2 separate regions of the Homo sapiens genome follow, and region 2 is linked to region 1. The links are contacts of gene promoters, found by promoter capture Hi-C in human tissues and cell types (Jung and others, 2019). All regions are on one chromosome and are shown on one strand. The core of a region is centred on a gene start or on the middle of the fragment in contact, and the rest is flanking DNA. Distances in the headings are between cores, read along the strand shown. Region 1 holds the start of SETD1B (SET domain containing 1B, histone lysine methyltransferase). Region 2 overlaps KDM2B (lysine demethylase 2B).

Region 1 (3,354 bases), core at 855-3,354:
CCATAGAAAATACCCCCCACTTAACGTTGGTGTTTGCTGGAACCAGCTAGGACTTGTTTTCCAGTTTTAATCTAGTTTCCTGTGACGGCTTTAGTCTCTCTACACAAAGAAAAGGTCTTCCTTTCCCTCACCCACCAGCTCCCCCCAACCCCCAACACCAAAGACGAGAAAAACAGGGCTGTTTTTCTTCAAATAGATCGATTTTCAAAGAAAGTGTACAAGCTACGGGGAAGAAAGCTGACTAGCATTTAGTGCTGTAAACATTTTCAAAAGCATAAAGCTAGAACCTTAGCTTTATAAAGCAAGATCGTCTCAAGCATCTTAACTGGCTTATATTAGACAAGAGAGACAAAGACATACATGCAGATGAAGGTTCGGAAAATTAAGGACATCTCAGCAACATTAACATCAAAACTGTACTGCGTCAGGACAGAATGGATTGGGTACTTACAATGTAAAAGGTTTTTTAAAAACTAAAAGAGTAACAACTGCTCACAATTTTTTGTTGCTGCCATTTCGCTAGTCCTAAAGCTATATACATTTAAAACATTACCTTGTTAAAAAGAGAGAAGGAGTTAATAAGATGGCCAGGTTTAAGTGTTTAATAGAGGAAACTAGATATATTTAAAAATTTATTGTTCAGTCAAGAGAATACAGATTAAGACAGCTCCAAGCTCCCCCCACCCACCCATAGAACAAAAAGAGGAAAAAAAATATGTCATTTACTTAGGTTTTTTTGGAATTCAAAACTGTTAACTGCTGACATGAATGGTGTGCTATGACCTAGTTATACAAGACAAAGATGGATTCCAAGTCATAAGGAAAAATCCAGATCTTTTTAAAAAGTCTTCTCCAGTCTTCCAACTGTGAGTCCTTGGGCCTGTTGACAAATGTTAAACACACTGAGACGTCCTGAACTGGATGGTAGAGTCAAAGGAAAAACATTCCCCATTTGCAACAAAGGAAAAACCCACTTGGCCATTTAATTCCATTGCAGAAAAATGGCTTCCCTCATCTGTTGGCCTCTCCTTCGTGTCTGATGAAGGATGTTTTGAGATCAGCGTCTAATAACTCAAGCCCTATAGAAGCCGCGCGCTGATTGGCTGCCGCGCCCTGCCGCCCTGCTCCAGCCAATTACCTACCCACGGCCAAATTACAAACCCCGAAAAGAGCCCCAATATGAGCTACACCAGCTCCGAGCCCCGGCGAGGCGGCTCCTGCGCCTCGGCCGCCAGAGAGGAGCGGCAGAGGGGGCTGCAAACGCGTCCTCGCGAAGCCCGGGAGCCTCGGAGTTGAACTCACAAAATGGAAGCCGCGCGCTGATTGGCCGCCGCCACTCCCGGACCTTTAATAAAGAAAGGGGAAGGAAAAGATAAATGCAAAAAAGGGGGACTCTCTCCTCCGCGGGTGGCTGGAGGAAGGGGGGGAAGCATGTGTTCAGGACAATTACAGGGCGCTCCCCTCCAAAAATAAAAACAGAAGAAGGCGTCTATCGCCCAGGTCCAGGCGAGGGCTGCATCCTCCCAGGAATGCGAATGCTAACGTGGTGAACCCTGGTCTCCCTTCCCCAGCTCAGCTCCGGGGAGGGGGTCGCGGGCCGCAGGAGGAAGCCGGAGCGCAGATACCTCGATTGCAACTCCTCTGAGTCGACGCCGGCCTCCCCCCGCGGCTCCCAGCGTCCACACACACCCTCGGCCCCCCAGACCCCAGCCATCTCCCCGGGCCCCGCGCGCCCGCCTCCGGCCCGGGCAGTTTGGAAACAGTTTTGCAGGCCCGGGACGCACGCCGCGGCGGTCGCGGCTCTGAGGGTAGTCCCGGCCGCGGGAGGTAGAGCCCGGGGAGACCCCCTCCCCCGCCAGCCAAGACCCCCACCCCAGTCCCAGAAAAATAAATAAATTAAAAGGCCTTCCCCCGGGGAGGGGGAGGCAGTGTGGGAGCGCGCGAGTGAGGGGTGGGGGGCCGCTGGGGCCCGGGGCTTTGGCGGCGCAGCTGCCGCCGCCGGGAGAGTGCCTGGGGAAGCGGCGAGGAAGGAGAGGGGAGGAGGAAGAGGAGGAGGAGGAGGAAGAGGAGGAGGGTGAGCGCTCGGGTCGGGCTCCTTAGCGGTGTATTGTGGGATGTGCGGCTACTGGGAGCCGAGCCTCCGCCGCCAGCCGCCTCCCGGGCAGCAGCAGCAGCAGCGGCGGCGGCAGCGGCAGCAGCTCCGGGCCCGGCAGCCGCGGCGGCGGCGCCCCCCCTTCCTGGCCCCCGGTCCGGCCGCCCCGGCCTCGGCTCCCTCGGGGGACACCATGTACTGGCTGGCGGCGCAGGGAGGCCGGCGCCCGGCGGGGATGTAAGCGCGGCTCGGGGAGGGAGAGGCCGCGGCCGGCAGCCGGGCGGCCCAAGCCCCCGGCCCCGGCCCTGGCCCGAGCGGGCGAGCGGGCGGGCGGGCGGCGGCGCCGCCAGGCCCTGCCGCCAGCCTCGCGCCAGAGCCGGGCCGAGCTAGCGGGTGAGCGCCACGCCGGGCGGCCGGGCGGGCACCATGGGCCGGAGTCCGCGTCCTCCGGGCGCCCCGGGCCCCGCCAGCCCGCCCAGGGGACCCCCGGGAGCCCCTCGCTGCCGCCCCGAGACGGTGGCCGAGCGGGCGGGCGCGTAATTCTCCCGGAAGGGTTATTCTCTCGCTCCATTCTTGTTTTGGGGGGAGCCAGCGAGACAGCTCCTTTCGGGGCGCGCTGGCAAGGTGGGAGGGGGTGGGGGCCTGCCGATTGGATTCTTTCGCGTGTGTGTAGAAGCGGCCGCCGCCGCCGCCGCGGCGGAGACGACAACAACTTGCTGGTTTTCAGGTTGGGTTAACGGCATGGAGAACAGTCACCCCCCCCACCACCACCACCAGCAGCCCCCGCCGCAGCCCGGCCCTTCGGGCGAGAGGAGGAACCACCATTGGAGAAGTTACAAGTTGATGATTGACCCGGCTCTGAAAAAGGGGCATCATAAACTGTACCGCTACGATGGGCAGCATTTCAGCCTGGCGGTGAGTAGCCGGCGCGCCCCCCCAGCCGTGCCCCGCGTCGTGTCCGGGGAGACGCGCCTAGCGGCCAGGGACCCCCCGCCCGATCCCCCGGCCAACTGTCAGACGGGGCCCCAGCCCTGGAGTTTGACAAGTGCCTCGAGAAAGGGGTCTGCCCATGGGGAGGGGGACCAGTTCTCTCATCCCGGCCCCCCAATTTCTCCCCACAGATGTCCAGCAACCGCCCGGTGGAAATTGTCGAAGATCCCCGGGTCGTCGGGATCTGGACCAAAAACAAGGAGCTGGAGCTGTCGGTGCCCAAATTCAAGGTAGGACCCCTCCCCACTGCCCCGCCGTCCCTCCCCCACCTC
Region 2 (4,681 bases), core at 718-3,217, 290 kb before region 1:
TCCTACAATTTGTTTTTCTCCTGGAAAAAAAAAAAAAAAAATCAATGGAAAAAAAAAAAAGTCCAATGGTAGGGGGAAGGGGAGAGGGAAGGTAAATTATTTGCAATTTCCAAATAGATTCAGTGGCTGTAAGGGAATGGGGCATGTCGGCATTACCTTTTCTGGGAAGGCTGCTTTCACTAGAGCCACTGGGAGGGGGGGAAAGATAAATAAAAGATAAATATAAGAGAGATGGCAATTTAATGATCATTTGGACCATACCTATTCCCTATCAACCTAACTGAAGTTAAAAGAATGTAGTGATGATCGAGATGTTGTCTTAAGTATCAAATGCACAACATATCCACTCGTTGCTGTCACTCTTCCATCACTCTTCATAGCTTCAGGATGAGGGGAAGGGGAGATTTCATCTACAAGGGTTGGGGAATGGAAATCCACCATTCCCCAAACACCTGTATATGTTCGTGCCACCTCATGGGCAGTGACATTGCAGGATGGGGTCACCTATCATCTCGCCAGAAAAATTTAAATGGTGAAGGTAAGACACAGCTTCCTAGGGAACCCTGGGGTTCCCTAGTTTAGATAGGGGTCCCCACCTTGGGCCACAAAGGCAAATTCTTTTTCTTTTCTTTTTTTTTTTTTTGAGATGGAGTCTCGCTCTGTCGCCCAGGCTGGAGTGCAGTGGCTCAATCTAAGCACACTGTAACCTCTGCCTACTGGGTTCAAGCAATCCTCCTGCCTCAACCTCCCGATTAGCTGGGACTACAGGCATGAACCACCATGCCTGGCTAATTTTTGTATTTTTTTAGTAGAGATGGGGTTTCACCATGTTGGCCAGGCTGGTCTCGAACTCCTGACCTCAGATCATCCGCCTGCCTTGGCCTCCCAAAGTGCTGGGATTATAGGCGTCAGCCACCGGCGCCTGGCCAGGCAAATTCTTTTTCTAAGACAAAGCCACACCATGGAGCTTGGAGACTGACCGATGGTTCCCTCTGTCCCACCTCCTGCATTTGGTTTCCAGGCAAAGCCATGTTTTAGGACTCTTAAAACACTTTTTTTGAGGGGGGGGATGGAGTTTCGCTCTTGTTGCCCAGGCTGGAGTGCAGTGGTGCGATCTCAGCTCACTGCAACCTTTGCCTCCCGGGTTCAAGCAATTCTCCTGCCTCAGCCTCCTGAGTAGCTGGGATTACAGGCACACACCACCATGCTCGGCTAATTTTTGTATTTTTAGTAGAGACAGGGTTTCACCATGTTGGTCAGGCTGGTCTCGAACCCCTGACCTCAGATCATCCGCCCGCCTTGGCCTCCCAAAGTGCTGGGATTACAGGCGTGAGTCACCATGCCCAGCCTATAAAACAGTATTTTTAAATGGCCATAACCTTCTTAAGAAAGCTCTCAGGGCTGTAAAGAATGAAGCTGTAGTGAGCTAACAAAGAGCCCTGGCATCTTATCTGGTTCCAGAATTCTCTCCCCAGTGCCTTTTGTCTGCCTTGGCTCCTAAGGCATAAACAATTGGGCCTCGTAGCCAAGTCCCTCTCTCAAGACCAGAAATCAAGGCAGATTAAACAACCTGCCGCTGCTCCCAGCCCAGTCTGCCCCCAAGCCCCCGCTGCCAGCCTGCTTCGGTGAAACCAGATGGGGTGCCCACTCAGGGGAAGGGACAGTAGGCCCCGGTGGGGGAGGGGACCTGCCATTCTCAACGAGGACGTGATATTCCACGTAAGCTCAGTGTGATGCTCAGGGGTCCGGCCAGCACCCTGCCAGTCGTCATGGGTGGGGGAAGGGACCTGGGCTCCTAAGGGAACCATGGGGCCCAAATCCGCTGAGTTTACAATTGAATTCCCAGGGGGACGGGGTGGTTGTCCAGCAAGTAGCCACAGCCTTTAGAAATCCCAGCCTGACTCCGGCTTTCAGGAATTGCCTGGAAAGTCGTGGGCCTGACTTCCACTAGATTTCTCCATCTCTATTCCACACGTCTGCTCGTGCACAAACTGGCCTGTACTCCAGGACAGGCCAAAGAACAGTTGGCCGGAGCCCCAGACAGCATTGACCCAGACTGTGAGGTGACCGCTTGTATCCAAACAGTGCCTTTCTCCTGAATGGCATGGGGCGGCTCCTCCAGACCAGGGTGGGGGCTGGCCTTCCCCAGGTGGGATGGGGATGGTGGGCCACAGAGAGGTGAGGGGAAAAAGTCCACAAAACGATGGTCTCCCATGGAGCCCCAGCCCAGACCCAGGTCTCTCCAGATCTAGGCGTCACGTGTCAATCTGCAGAGGTACACATGCCTCACAACATCTGACCACTGAACTCAACTCCAGGTGGTCTCCAGGAAACCCCCAGACATGGGCCCACAATGCCGGGACTGTTCAATGTTCAGATACAAAGGCAGCAGCTAATACTTTGCTCATGTATGTGATTTTGTGCAAACCAAGGCCTGAAAACAAGACCAGGAGAGACAGGGGCTTGGTACAGAGCAGGTGCCCTTGTGAGACCTCTCCTTAGATCTATGCAGAGCAACACCTCACTGGGGCAAAAAGCCATCTCAGAAGCAAATCCCAAGAAGAAATGGTGTGGTCTGGCTACAGAATGGAATATTATTCAGCCATGAAAAGGAATGAAGCTCTGGCACATGCTACAATGTGGATGAACCTGGAAATCATTATGCTACATGAAAGAAACCAGACACAAAAGGCCACATGTTGAATGACTCCATTTACATCAAATGTCCAGAATAGGCAAATCCACAGAGATAGAAAATAGATTAGGGCTAGCCAGGGGAAAGGTGGGGAGACACAGGAAGTGACTGCTTGTGGGTACAAGGTTTCTTTTTGGGGTGATGAAAATGTTCTGGAATTAGTGGTGATCATGACACAATCTTATAAAGATACTAAAACCACTGAATTGTATACTTTGAATGGTAAATTTTAGGGTATATGAATTATATCTCAATTTAAAAGAAAATGAATATTTGAATAGCTGTGTTGAAAAAACAGGAACAAGTAGAACAAGAAATGGGACTTTTTTACCCCAAGTCTCTGGGTTTTGTTTGTTTCTTTGTTTTTTAGTATGAGACAGGTCCGGCTCTGTCGCCCAGGATGGAGTGCAGTGGCGTGATCTCGGTTCACTGCAACCTCCGCCTCCCGGGCTCAAACGACCCTCCCACCACAGCCTCTCAAGTAGCTGGGACTACAGGCGTACACCACCACGCCCAGCTTTTTTGTATTTTTGGTAAAGACAGGGTTTCATCATGTTGGCCTGGCTGGTCTCGAACTCCTGACCTCAAGTGATCCACCCACCTCGGCCTCCCAAAGTGCTGGGATTACAGGCAAGAGCCACCGCGCCCGGCCCCAAGTCTTCAGTTTTGACCCAGTTTGGGACCTGTCTTATGTGCCTAGGGACACGTGATCAAGTCCTAGCACGAGAAAGGCCATGGCAAGTTCAGGCCACTTGTCCTTTTCAGGGGACACTTGTGGAGCGAAGGACACACATCAGTTACCTAAGCCTCCGCCCATGTTCGTAGGACATGGGGTGAGTGAGGGAAACTTGACGTCTGGGAAACTAGCACCGTCCCTGTCAAGGGCAGAGAAAAGCCTCGGCCCCAGGAAACTAGAGACGTCCTCAGCAGACATGGAGACTACCTCAGAGACAGTACCCAGGGGGACTCAGGCACTGGCTTCCTCAGGCTTCCTCCCCAGTCAGATCTGGGGTCCCTGGGAGAACATATAGCCAAGACCTGACCTCAGACCAGGACAGGCCCTTCCAAGGTCCACACCCATCCTCCAAACAACAGCGACCAAATCCCCCTAATCCCTCACACCACTTTCTCCACGTGAGGAGGAAGAGGCAGGTCCCTGAAATCTCACGGTGCTTTCTCAGAGACACTTCCTCTTCCACAAGGGGGTTTTGGCTGCCCCCAACCTGGAGGTGAACAGAAACTCCAGGGCCTCCGGGTGTGGCTCCTACAGGCATTCCCCTGCCCCCCCTCCCCCGCCACAGAACCAGGACTGAAGCCAGCTTGAGAGAGGAATCGGGAGGGAGAGGGGAACTGTGGAGGACTTCAGTATGACCTGTCCCACACACCGAGCACCGGCAGAGCTCAGGGGCCAGGCGCGCACGCGAGGACAGAAGGGAACCTCCTTACCCGCGTCCTGTCCTCGATCTCGTAGATCCGCAGCTGCATGGGCACGTTAAAGCTGTGCAGGATGTTTCCGCCGAACACCAAAGAGTCTACAGGGGTGTAGACGGCATGGATCCAACCTGGGGTGGGAAGGGCAAGGAGAGGATGAGCCGCTGGCCCCTGTGGGCTCCCACACCTCACAAGGCTGCAGGGAGGGAGAGCGAGCGTGCAGGAGGGTGCAGGGAGTGGAGAAGAGCAGCCAGGGCCTGGGGCAGCGGCGCCCAGCAATGCCTGCTGCACAACGCCCAGGCCTGAGCCGCCGAGAGGACTCAGACTTGCAGCCTCGAGCAGCCACTGTCTGGCTCAAGTCAGGAGCTGGGAAGCTGCAGATCAGCCCCCACTTCTTGAGGACCGTGATGACAAAAGCTTCCTCTGGGGACCTGGCTGCAATGGCCAGCAGAGAGGCAGGCCCTTTCTCCACCTCCATGCAGGCCACGGAGCCTCACCTCCCCTCCCAGGTGGCACATGTGTCCAGAGTCTTTCCTCACCATCCCAGAGGGGTCA

What was found. The method cuts DNA at HindIII sites, captures the fragments that hold promoters and counts their contacts. A contact is called where the count stands out against the background at its distance.
Region 2: a contact is called between a fragment that was not itself captured here and the fragment with the promoter of SETD1B in region 1, in 1 of the 25 tissues and cell types used here (dorsolateral prefrontal cortex).

Annotation. Positions count from the first base shown.
Region 1 is chr12:121,801,905-121,805,258 of GRCh38, forward strand. SETD1B (SET domain containing 1B, histone lysine methyltransferase) reads left to right here and starts at 2,105. Exons shown (of 17, transcript NM_001353345.2): 1 at 2,105-2,329; 2 at 2,820-3,007; 3 at 3,214-3,312. The coding sequence starts at 2,834. LINC01089 (long intergenic non-protein coding RNA 1089) reads right to left here and starts at 1,042. Exons shown (of 4, transcript NR_152740.1): 1 at 727-1,042. RefSeq lists silencers at 1,650-1,899, 2,170-2,299, 2,340-2,399. The HindIII fragment of the contact is 28,947 bases long and covers 1-3,354 here.
Region 2 is chr12:121,516,844-121,521,524 of GRCh38, forward strand. It overlaps KDM2B (lysine demethylase 2B), which reads right to left. Exons shown (of 23, transcript NM_032590.5): 9 at 4,142-4,257. Among named protein-coding and RNA genes, the nearest start is that of KDM2B-DT, 61 kb to the right of the region's middle. RefSeq lists an enhancer at 1,727-2,300. The HindIII fragment of the contact is 5,809 bases long and covers 1-4,681 here.